2 separate regions of the Homo sapiens genome follow, and region 2 is linked to region 1. Evidence: promoter capture Hi-C in 16 types of primary human blood cells and fetal thymus (Javierre and others, 2016). All regions are on one chromosome and are shown on one strand. The core of a region is centred on a gene start or on the middle of the fragment in contact, and the rest is flanking DNA. Distances in the headings are between cores, read along the strand shown. Region 1 holds the start of GPR160 (G protein-coupled receptor 160). Region 2 holds the start of TNFSF10 (TNF superfamily member 10).

What was found. Contacts are between HindIII fragments. The CHiCAGO score rates a contact against its expected background, and 5 or more counts as called.
Region 2: a contact is called between the fragment with the promoter of TNFSF10 here and the fragment with the promoter of GPR160 in region 1, in 1 of 17 cell types (neutrophils). The highest score is 5.1, in neutrophils.

The regions. Positions count from the first base shown.
Region 1 is chr3:170,033,422-170,040,123 of GRCh38, forward strand. It overlaps GPR160 (G protein-coupled receptor 160), which reads left to right and starts at 4,574. Exons shown (of 4, transcript NM_014373.3): 1 at 4,574-4,794; 2 at 5,494-5,622. RefSeq lists silencers at 4,549-5,028, 5,339-5,388, 5,549-5,598 and an enhancer at 5,454-5,953. The HindIII fragment of the contact is 12,490 bases long and covers 1,242-6,702 here.
Region 2 is chr3:172,520,675-172,526,826 of GRCh38, forward strand. TNFSF10 (TNF superfamily member 10) reads right to left here and starts at 2,756. Exons shown (of 5, transcript NM_003810.4): 1 at 2,579-2,756. The coding sequence starts at 2,710. It also overlaps the pseudogene TBPL1P1. RefSeq lists an enhancer at 2,688-2,737. The HindIII fragment of the contact is 8,260 bases long and covers 2,261-6,152 here.

The sequences.
Region 1 (6,702 bases), core at 3,324-5,823:
TTTGGGAACAATAGTATATCTAGTGGGATTATATTCAATTCCATGGAACAAACCCTGACCTTAAACAAGTAAGGGGGTTGCTTTTCTCGTGTAGTAAGACATCTGGAGCTAGGCACAGCTAGGTGGGTGCGGCTCCACCTTTATTGTGGGCTGTCCCAGAGTCTAAGACTACTGCTCCACCTCCAGCCTCAAGGCAACCTCACAGCAACCTCAAAGCAGGAAGGAAACAGGAGGCTGAGAAAAGGGGTAGTACCCGCAACAGGAAAGCAAAAACCTTCCCAGGACTTGCCAGCTGACGTCCTCCTATATCTCAATGGCCAGAATTGTGTCACGGGACCATTTCCTCCTACATCTCATTGGCCAGAACCATGTCATGTGATCACCCCTGCGATGACCTCGCGAAAGTGGGCATCTTAGCTTGGCACATTGCCTCCCTGTACAAAATCTGGGTTCTCTTAGAAGTTAAGAAGGCGAGAATGGATTTGAGGAGGCAGTTAGCAGTGCCCCGTAAAGAACTGACGGATCAGGGATGTCGGGAGAGGAGAAGCCGCCTCGGAAGTACCACTGGACTCTGGATTTCTAGGAGCTCTGGGCACCACTGTTGATGCATTTTGCTACAAGGAGGCAGGGAAAGATAGTCTTTGTTCCACGAAGCTCTGGGCTTAGCTTCAGTTCTATTACAGCCCCTTAATGACAGGGATACATTCTGAGAAATGCGTCTTTAGGCAATTTCATTTTGTGAACATGGAGTGTACTTACACAAACTTAGATGGTATAGCCTACTACACACCTAAGTTATATGGTATAGCCTATTGCTTCTAGGCTGCAAACTTCCACAGCATGTGACTGTACTGAATACTGTAGGCAACTGTACTGAATACTGTAGACAACGGTAAGAATTTATGTCTCTAAACATAGAAGAGGCACAGTAAAAATACAATATAAAAGATAAAAACGGTATACCCGTATAGAGCACTTACCATGAATGGAGCTTGCAGGGCTGGAAGTTGCTGTGGGTGAGTGAATGAAAAGGCCTAGGATATTACTGTCCACTACCGCAGACTTTATAAACACTACATTTAGGCTACACTAACAATAAGTTAATCTTGGCTTACTGTAACTTTTTTACTTTGTAAACTTTAAATTTTTTTTTAACTTTTTGACTCTTTTGTAATAATACGCCTTAAAACACAAATACGTTTCAGCTGTACAAAAATATTTTCTTCTATTCTTATTCTATAAGCTTATTTTTCCCATTTTGAAAATGCATTTATTTACCTTTTAAACTTTTTTTCTTAAAAACAAAGGTGCAGGCCTACACAGGGTCAGTATCATCAAGATATCACTAGGTGATAGGAATTTGTCAGCTCCATTCTAACCTTGTGAGGCCACTGTTGTAGATGTGATCCATTGTTAACCAGAATGTCATTGCAGCACATGACTTTATTACAGAAGAAGGAAAGAATGGACAGTGGGGAGCAACCAAGGTCTCTGTCTGCCACAGTTCCTCCACCAGCCCCTGAGACAGAGTTCCCCTCAGGAGGAGTCTGGTATGCGGACCCATGTACACATCATCTCTAGACAGAGAGACTTCAGGGCAGTTGTTGACATCGGCTTAAGAAATGGTGGGAGAGTGGCAGGCACTTGGGGATGCTGAAAGTATTTGAAGATAAATCCAGCCTCCCAGATCCGCCTGGAGAGAGGCATTGACAGGGCAGCCTGGCTGCTCAGAGCTACCCTACCCCAGCCTTGTCACTAGCAATATGTCTCTCCTTCCTGGGTCTCAGTCTCATTTTCCTCTTCTTTTTTTTTTTTTTTTTTTTTTTTGAGACAGAGTCTCGCTCTTGTCGCCCAGGCTGGAGTGCAATGGTGTGATCTCAGCTCACTGCAACCTCCGCTTCCCAGGTTCAAGTGATTCTCCTGCCTCAGCTTCCTGAGTAGCTGGGATTACAGGCGCCCGCCACCATGCCTGGCTAATTTTTGTATTTTTAGTAGAGACGGGGTTTCACCATGTTGGCCAGGCTGGTCTCAAACTTCTGACCTCATGCAGTCTGCCCACCTCAGCCTCCCAAAGTGCTGAGATTACAGGTGTGAGCCACTGTGCCCGGCTCTCATTTTCCTCTTCTATAAAGGAGAGTAATAACCCTACCTTGCAGGGTTGGCGTGAGGCTCGTTTGAAGTTATGTATGTCCAGCTCCTGTTCTATACTATCCACTCCCTAGATGATGGTTATTTTTGTTATGAGTATGATTTGGCCCCCATGCCCTCTGCTCTAACTCAACTCCCATCCTCTCCCTCTCAGGTCTTCTGACCCACTTGCCATTCCCTTATTAGAACATGAACTCTCTGCCTGGCTTTCCACTTCCCACTTTGCACACGTTGGAATCTTGGCGGAAGCACCTCACATCCCGTTGAACCCGGTACTCCTCTGTGATTCAGTTGGCCTCTGCACTTCTCCAGGAAGTTCTCTCTGCCACTCCAGGCCAGGTGAAGCTGCTCCTCAGTCTCCCTAGCAACCCACACTTAATTCTATCAGGGTTCTTCTTGCACCCTTGGGCAATTACTGAGTTCCTTGCAAGGCTAGTCCAGACTCTCAGTGTATAAACCACCCTTGAGGTAACTAATTCCATCTTAGAAAAACCCTCCATTTTATATTTCATGGGCACTTTGCTAACAAGGATAAGATGTTTTGCTTGACGAACAAATTTTAAAAAAGAACACAAACAAGCACACTCATCCACTATAAGTTCTCACCAGAGGACCCTCTGACTGTAAAAGAGCGAAGCCTTCAGCTTGGCTGTCTTCACTAACACCGTCTTGCAGTCACTCATGATAAGAACTCAGAATTTGCCACCGAAAGCTCTGCCACATCAAAGACTCTTCCTTGCAAGACCACCAGGCCCAGACCAGGACTCCCTTTGTCTTCTTCCCTCCCTTTGGACTGGTTCATTAACCCTTTCTCCTCTTCTTCGTCTTGATGTTAAATATTACTTTGTTGTGGAATGTTTAATCTACAACATTCGTATAGTGATTAAGTATACTAGTATGTATGGTTTGCAATATTTACTGACTTATGGAGTGGCTTGAACCTATGTGCTCTGACTACAGAGTGAATGGGAAGGACTAAGGAGAATTGCCTCCTTGGGAACTCCATGTAGCTCCTGGATTTTGTGATTGAAATAGCATTTAAAAAAAAAAAAAGACTGACATTGTGGAGAGATACAAACGTGTATGGACATGGTCATCTTTAATCTCTAACTGCTATGACACTCAGAGAGGTTGAGAGGCTCAGGACACTCCCCTTGTTCAAGGCTCTGCGTGAAGAGGAGAAGGAAGAAATTGTGCAATATTTTATTTTATTTTATTTGTTTCAGATGAAGTCTGTCTCTGTTGCCCAGGCTGGAGTGTAATGGCGTGATCTTGGTTCACTGCAACCTCTGCCTCCTGGGTTCAAGTCATTCTCCTGCCTCAGCCTCCCAAGTAGCTGGGACTACAGGCATGTGCCATTACGCCCAACTAATTTTTGTATTTTTAGTAGAGGCAGGGTTTCACCATGTTGGCCAGGCTGGTCTTGAACTCGTGACCTCAAGTGATCCACCCGCCTCGGCCTCCCAAAGTGCTGGGATTACAGGCTTGAGCCACTGCGCTGGCCTAATTGTTCGATATTTTAAATGTTTAAATGACCGGCAAGTCGTAGGTGCTCAACAAATATTTGTTGAATGACAACAAATTAGCACTGTTGACACAAAAAAGGCAATGCAATATATGGGCTATTTAATATTTGCAGATTTTTATTTAAAAATCTGAATTCACAGTACACTGCAGGCGGTTGCTTAGAAGCATACAAGTTTCAAGAAGTTCTGTCACCCTGTGTATACTCTTTTTTTTTTTTTTTTTTTTTTTTTTTTTTTTTTTTGATACGGAGTCTTGCTGTTGCTGCCCAGGCTGGAGTGCAGTGGTGCGGTCTTAGCTCACTGCAACCTCCGCCTCCTGGGTTCAAGCGATTCTCGTGCCTCAGCTTCCCAAATAGCTGGGATTACAGGTGCGTGCCACCAAGCCCGGCTAATTTTTGTATTTTTAGTAGACATGGGGACCAACGTGGACCATGTTGGCCAGGCTGGTCTCAAACTCCTGACCTCAAGTGATCCGCCCACCTTGACCTCCCAAAGTGCTAGGATTACAGGCATGAGCCACCGCCTGGCCACCCTGTGTAAACTCTTATCTGGAGACAACTGCCAAGTTTACATTTGCAGAGGTAAGGGAAGGAGAGGCCCTGACCCAGTGGCCCCCGCTCGCCCGCCTGCTGGGGAGATGGGGAGCTCCTAGGACAGGGGCCGGGTCCTCAAGATGTGGCATGAGGAAGGGGGTCTCACTGAGCCCCCAAGCGGCTCCCGCACTGCGCACCCCTGGCTGCGTCCCTCTGCCAGCCTCAACTCAGCCCTCTCCTAGCCGGCGGGGGGTGACAGTCTCTGTGATATCTTTCCGTCCCGCCGGCAGGCGGCGCCCTCCGGCCCTTGTTTCGTTGGGCCCGGACGGGACGTGCGCGCTCAAAGGTTGCCCGTCTCTGACGCCCGCATTTCCTGGTCTGGAGCCGGCTGAGCCACAGCAGGGTCGCCGCGGGGTCCCGGGGCCGTGCTCCCCTGCCCCTCCCGGGAGCGCGCGGGGCGGGGCGGGGCGGGGCGGGACCAGGCGGGCGAGCTGGGCCCTCGCCCCTCCCTCGGGCGGTCACCTGGGCACGGGCGCTGCAGGTGTCGGGGCCTCAACCTTGCGGAGCCGACAGCCATCGATCCTCGGGTGAGTGCGGGCGCAGGTGGAGGGCGCCCGGCGCTCTCGCCACCGGCGTCCCAGCCTCGGGGCGGCGAACGGTCCCCGCGCCGCTCCCAGCCTCCCTGGCCGGGCGTTCAGCGCGCCTGGGAGGGGAAGGAATTTCCTTTGCAGGAACTCAGGGGCTGGGGGTTCTCTGCTACTTAAGAGATCCAGGAGTGGAGCCCGGACGCCCGAGCCTTCCTGCTTCGGGATGGGGATTACCGCGGAGCCTTAGCAACTGGGGTCTGTCGTGGGTTTGAGGGCAGGGGGTCTGGGGAATGGGCGTGTCCCGCACCCAGAGACTCGCCACCCTCTCTCCAGGGGAGATGCTTTTTAAACATGACAAACCCAGCAAGGTTATAGAAATGGGTGTATGCAACTCTTCGCTCTTTCCTGGCGCCCAGAGGTGAATAGTCTCACACACACGCGCGCGCGCGCGCGTGCGTGCATTCATTGGGGCCGACTTTGCCTCCCCTCCCCTGGCCTCGAGCGTTGGGGACGGCGCCCCCGCCCGCGCCCGCCACTGGGATTAAGCCCCAGGGCCTTGCCCGGCTATTTGTTTTCCGAGGCCGTTGCGTCCGGGTAGGTTCCTGGATGACCATCCTGGCTGGCTCAAAATTCCCTCTAGATTACCTGCGACCACCCCCAGGAACCCGGAGACTGAAACTCCTTTTCTCACCTGCGCAGGTGGCCTCGAGGTGGTGGCAGGGCCGCCCCCTGCAGTCCGGAGACGAACGCACGGACCGGGCCTCCGGAGGCAGGTTCGGCTGGAAGGAACCGCTCTCGCTTCGTCCTACACTTGCGCAAATGTCTCCGGTAAGGGGAAGTGTCGCTTAAATCCCAGAGATAACCCCCACCGAGAAGCATCACAAAAGACATGAACGAGTGTTTAGCTCTCAGGATTGTTATTGCTTCGAGTGAAATGGTTTCTTGTGTGCTTTTGTGCATTTATATATAAATATAAACATATATGTATACATTTGACAAGCTCTAAGACCGGCACTTGTGATATCTCCAGAATAGAGTTATTATAGTTATTTGGAAATTGTCAGTGAGGATCAGCTTGGTTGCTATGCGAATTGCAGGGAGGAGGACCTGTGTGCAGTTTCAAAACGATTTAAGAGAAATTCGGTGGCAATACAAGGTGTGGACGTTGGTTGGATCCTGATTTGATGAATGTTTTTTAAAATGGAGATGATGCCCGAGTGCGGTGGCTCACACCTGTAATCCCAGCACTTTGGGAGGCCGAGGTGGGTGGATCACCTGAGGTCAGGGGTTCGAGACCAGCCTGGCCAACATGGTGAAACCCTTCTCTACTAAAAATACAAAAATTAGCTGGGTGTGGTGACACGCGCCTGTAATCCCGGCTACTCGGGAAGGCTGAGGTAGGAGAATCGCTTGAACCCGGGAGGCGGAGGTTGCAGTAAGCCGAGATGGCGCCACTGCACTCCAGCCTGGGAGGCAGAGCGAGACTCCGTCTCAAAATAAATAAATAAATAAGGAGACGATGAAGGACATTTCTACTGATTATTTGATGGTATCAAGGAAATTATAATAGTTCTGTTTAGTTACTTTTGGTAACGGTATCCTGATTAAGGTTTTTAAAATCCCTGTAGAGACACAGACTGAAGTTGAAATACAGCTTTGGGATTTGCTTCAGAATTATTCAGTTTTAGATGCTAGCAGAGAAGGGAGGGGAACAAGATGAGAGGAGATTGTTCATGGATTGTTAATAGTTGAAGCTGGGAAGAACACATGGACACAGGCAGGGGAACTTCAGGCACGGGGGCCTGTCGGAGGGTGGGGGGAAAGGGGAGGGAGAGCACTAGGACAAATACCTAATGCATGCAGGGCTTAAAACCTAGATGACGGGTTGATAGGTGCAGCAAAACACCA
Region 2 (6,152 bases), core at 1,506-4,005, 2.5 Mb after region 1:
TTGGGAACCACATGCTAGACCCAGAGGTATACTAATGAGCAGAAGCAGACACAGCTCTGATACAGCTACCCTCACCCTCAAGAATTCATGAGTCAAGAACTGTAACTCCAACCTGCAACAACAAAGCAGGGAAGATGGCTACAGTTACCAAAACAGCATGTTACTGGTATGGAAACAGATACATAGACCAATGGAACAGAACAGAGGCCTCAGAAATAACACTACACATCTACAACCACCTGATCTTTGACAAACCTGACAAAAACAAGCAATGGGGAAAGGATTCCCTATTTAATAAATGGTGCTGGGAAAACTGGCTAGCCATATGCAGAAAACAGAAACTGGGCCCCTTCCTTACAGCTTCTACAAAAATTAACTCAAGATGGATTAAAGACTTAAACGTAAAACCTAAAAGCATAAAAACCCCAGAAGAAAACCTAGGCATACCATTCAAGATGGCATGGGCAAAGACTTCATGACTAAAACACCAAAAGCAATTGCAACAAAAGTCAAAATTGACAAATGGGATCTAATTAAACTAAAGAGCTTCTGCACAGCAGAAGAAACTATCATCAGAGTGAACAGGGAACCTACAGAATGGGAGAAAATTTTTGCAATCTACCCATCTGACAAAGGTCTAATATGCAGAATCTACAAGGAATTTGTTTCTTGTAAAACAAATTGACAAGAAAAAAACCACATCAAAAAGTGGGCAAAAGATATGAACAGATACTTCTCAAAAGAAGACATTTATGTGGCCAACAAACATGAAAAAAAGCTCATCATCACTGGTCATTAGAGAAATGCAAATCAAAACCATAATGAGATACCATCTCACTCCAGTTAGAATGGTGGTCATTAAAAAGTCAGGAAACAACAGATGCTGGAAGGATGTGGAGAAATAGGAATGCTTTTACACTGTTGGTGGGAGTATAAATTAGTTCAACCAGTGTGGAAGACAGTGTGGCAATTCCTCAAGGAACCAGAAATACCATTTGACTCAGCAATCCCATTACTGGGTATATACCCAAAGGATTATAAATCATTCTACTATAAAGACACATGCACACATATGTTTATTCCAGCACCATTTACAATAGCAAAGACTTGGAACCAACCCAAATGCTCATCAGTGATAGACTGGATAAAGAAAATGTGGCACATATACACCATGGAATACTATGCAGCCATTAAAAAGAATGAATTCATGTCCTTTGCAGAGACATGGATGAAGCTGGAAGCCATCATTCTCAGCAAACTAACACAGGAACAGAAAACCAAACACTGCATGTTCTCACTCATAAGTGGGAGTTGAACAGTGAGAGCACATGGACACAGGGAGGGCAACACACACACTGGGGCCTGTCGGGGGTGGGAGGCTAGGGGAGGGAGAGCATTAGAACAAATCCTAATGCCTGTGGGGCTTACAACCTAGATGATGGGTTGATGGGTGCAGCAAACCACCATGGCACATGTATACCTATGTAACAAACCTGCACGTTCTGTACACGTATCCCAGAACTTAAAGTAAAATAAAAAAATTTAAAAATAAAGAAATCTGTTTGCCAGAATTCACAAAGAGCAATAGACCTCATGTGAGTTATGAATCTGAACTTCATCCTGCTGTGTGCTATTGGATAAAGACTCTAAGAGCTACATTACAGATTTTTTCGACAGGAAGTATCACAGTAACAAGGCCCTATTTAAAGGCTGTTGCTACTGCTGTGGAACAGATTTACCCATTTGTGTTTGAAAGCAGGAAAGAAATTTTATCATTCACCACTTAATTGGTTAGAATCTCTTACTGTGCACCTTTTAAAACCTGCTGCACATTGGACTCAAAAGGAAAACTGAACCAACGGTAATTGAGGAAATAGACTCTTTTATTTATTCATGGCTACAGTGTAAGCTCCAGTCCCTTTGGATTTTATTCCAAACCTTGTTATAATATAAAAAAGGAAGTTTACAAGACATGTCATTGCTGCTTTTACAAAAGGACATTCTATTTATTTTCGCAGGAATTCTCATGTCCCCATAAGCAGAGCTGTCACAGTGTGCACTACCTTAGGTTGTTTTATTGTTGTCATTGTTATTTTTTTCCATTTTGAGCTAATGTGTTTTATCTGTGAATAGTCTTTTACATTTTTGTATGCTGAAAATGGGCACCAAAGAACCTGTAAAAATTATCTTTTTCAATTGAATGTGCACAAATAAAAGTTTGGAAAAGGAAAACAAAAGAACTACAAAGCATTTAGCAGAAAGCTTTCATGAAGAGTTGCAATGGCTGATATTATAAAATACACATACTTTTAAAAACAAAAAATCCCTCAGGAGTTTTGTTGCCCACATCTGCTAGTAACTAGTGAAGCCAGTTGTGTAACTGCACTTAGTTTACACAATTTCTTGAACTTACAGTTTTGCAAAGACCTCAGTTGTTATGTGATTTAGCAGTTAGAGTGTACCCACAGAGAAAGGAAGCAGGAAAGTCTTCAGAGAGGGGCAAGCTGACATGCAAAGAAGCAGGTAACCAGACATTTGCTAAGCGCCTCGAAGACTGAGTGCACTGCACTGCACTGACCTGCTTCAGCTCGTTGGTAAAGTACACGTAAGTTACAGCCACACAGAGAGACTGCAGGAGCACTGTGAAGATCACGATCAGCACGCAGGTCTGTCCCAGGCTGGGTCCCCCCTGGACCTCCATCATAGCCATGATCCTGTCAGAGTCTGACTGCTGTAAGTCAGCCAGGCAGCCGGTCACTGAAGCCCTTCCTTCTCTATTCTTTTATAGTCAGTGAGGAAATGAAAGCGAATGAGTTGTTTTTCTGGGTTCTGTGGCCTTGGCCCCACCCACATCTATTGAACCTGCAACTGTCCCTCCCCTTTCCTACTGCCCAGGGACAGCTCTTGTCTCAAAGTAGTCGTTGGAAAGGAGGGAAACTGAAAGAAGCTCCTCTCCTTGCCCTCAGGATCCATGCACCCCTTATCTGCACTCACCTCAAGCCCATTTCTCTCTTCTCTTTCTTGCTCTCCTTTTGATAATGTCCTCAGCCAAAGAGGGGAGGGATTTTCTTTGCTTTTCCCTAACATATCCTCATTCTACCACAGAGCTCTAAGCCTCATGGCCTGGCTGTCATAGGCACAAGGCCTGTTTTCTAAATTATAAGATAATTTTTATGACCTGAAACTTCCATATGTGGTTTTTCTCATGCTACTGTGAGGGTGGGAAGAGGGCAGGGTGGGAGTGGATAAAGGAAAATAGAAATACTGTCTCATAGCAATGGTCTTGCTACATAATTCCATCTTGAATGTCAGAATCTAAATATTGACGACTTCTTCCTCTTTGCAAACCTTCAGACACAAATTCTAATCTCCTTCTCAGATCTCCATCCCTACCAAGACAACATGCCTGTGTGTTAGGCTGGACAGGTAGGAAGTAGTTGACACACTCAGAAAGGCAAAGGAAAAAAACATGTGGATGTTTTCCAAAATATTAACCCCATCACAATGTCTCGCTGTCACTATCCTTTTACAGATTAGGAAAAGAAGTTACAGGGAGTTAATTACCCTCAGATTCAGGACCCAGCCCCAAATCTCCCCACTATCAGATGTCATAAGCTGGCCCAGCTGTATGTTGTCTCTATATCTTATTCAGCATTTCTTTCTTTCCTTTTCTTCCTTTCTTTCTTTCTTTCTTTTCTTTTCTATTCTTTCCTTCTTTCCTTCTTTCTTTCTTTCTTTCTTTCTTTCTTTCTTTCTTTCTTTCTTTCTTTCTTTCTCTCTTTCATGTATTTATTTATTTTTTTGACAGAATCTCACTTTATCGCCCAGGCTGGAGTGCAGTGGTGCAATGGCACAATCTCGGCCCACTACAACCTCCACCTCCCAGATTCAAGCAATTCTCCTGCCTCAGCCTCCCAAGTAGCTGGGATTACAGGTGCATGCCACCATGCCCAGCTAATTTTTTTGTATTTTTAGTAGAGATGGGGTTTTACCATGTAGGCCAGGCTGGTCTCGAACTCCTGACCTCAAGTGATCCTCTTGCTTCAACCTCCCAACGTGCTGGGATTACAGGCATGAACCACTGCATGGGGCCATTGTTTAGTTATTCCATTCTTGACCCACTGAGTCAGAGTTTCTGGCAGTGGACTTAGGAACCTACATTTTTCAGCAAGTACTCCAAGAGATCCTTTGAAACCTAAAGTTTGGGACCCTAGATCTACAGTTACATTCCTGAGTTCATTCAGGCACCGCTGGTCACCATCACTTCCTGCCCTTGCCTTCTATCTGTAAATGAGTCTATATTTAAGAAAATATTTTCAAATTTTAAATTTGCCTCTGTCAAATTGCCAAATTTTTAAATGCAAATTCCTTTCAGACACAGACAAATTGGCAAGGTAGCATTTTTCCTACTAAAAGTTTTAGACATTATGTGAACCTAACACTATTTGAACACACTTACACTCTAAGTCCTAGACTGAATGAGTTTTTTAAATCAGGTGAAAGATGAGTAGGATAACCGTAATGCACAAGACACACAGCCGGGCAGGGCAGAAACAAGAAACGAGAGATGGCAGAGAAACACAGGGGAGAAGACCAAAGAAAACCAACTTAACACCTTTGTTATAATCCAGAAATAGAAACATTACGGCTATGATGTACGTGAAAGGCATGAAACGAAGGAATGGGAAACGTGCAGGAAGTCAACATCTCTATCTTATAAGCACGTAAGAAAGTCTAGAGTGTGGAAATAAGGAGGCTTATCTCGGGGTCAGGTCAAGAGATGGGGTGATTTGAGGAGTTACAAGAGTCGGCTGGGCGCGGTGGCTCACGCCTGTAATCTCAGCACTTTAGGAGGCCGAGGCGGGCGGATCATGAGGTCAAGAGATCGAGACCATCCTGGCTAACACGGTGAAACTCCATCTCTACTAAAAATACAAAAAATTATTAGGGCATGGTGGTGGGTGCCTGTAGTCCCAGCTACTTGGGAGGCTGAGGCAGGAGAATGGTGTGAACCCGGGAGGCAGAGCTTGCAGTGACCAGAGATCGTGCCACTGAACTCCAGCCTGGGTGACAGAGCAAGACTCCAGCTCAAAAAAAAAAAAAAAAAAAGTCAAGAGGTCTGGCTACCTCTATCTTTGAGCCTCCTAACGTATTAAATATGAAGATATTATATATACATATTTGATATAGAGAAATCTTAATCTTTTTGTTATAACAATGTTTAAATAATATAGAGCTAAAGCCATTATTATTATTATTACTAGCATGGATCTGCTGACTGGCATCCATACATTAACCATAACCTTTAATCAGCAATTCAGTTTCTTTAAACTGGAGTGAGAATTTGTTATTTTATTTTATTTATTTATTTTGAGACAGAGTCTCACTCTGTTACCCAGGCTGGAGTGCAGTGGTACAATCTCAGCTCACTGCAACCTCCACCTCCTGGGTTCAAGTGGTCCTCCTGCCTTAGCCTCCCGAGTAGCTGGGACTACAGGTGCCCGCCACCACACCTGGCTAATTTTTTTTTTTTTGTATTTTTAGTAGAGTCAGGGTTTCACCATGTTGGCCAGGCTGGTCTCAAACTCCTGACCTCAGGTGATCCACCTGCCTTGGCCTCCCAAAATGCTGGGATTACAGGCGTGAGCCACCATACCCGGCTGAGAACCTTTTAAAAATACTTTTTTTTTTTTTTGAGACAGAGTCTCACTTTGTTGCCCAGGCTGGAGTGCAGTGGTGGGATCTCGGCTTACTGCAACTTCCGCCTCCCAGGTTCAAGAGATTCTCGTGTCTCAGCCTCCTGAGTAGCTGGGATTACAGCTGTGCACCACCATGCCTGGCTAATGTTTTGTAGTTTTAGTAGAGACGGGGTTTCACCATGTTGGTCAGGCTGGTCTTGAACTCCTGACCTCAAGTGATCCACCCTCCTCAGCCTCCCAAAGTGCTGAGATTACAGGCTTGATTACACACTGCACCCGGCCTGTTTTATAATTTTTAAGTAATTTTTAATGAAGTCCTTACAAAGCATTAAATTCAGCATTCCAAGAAACAACTCATATTTTATTGGCTTCCATGATATTTATATGAACTATGTAATTACAACTGGCATAATCAGTTCTGAGAATAATTTAATTCTTGTTAGATATATAGAT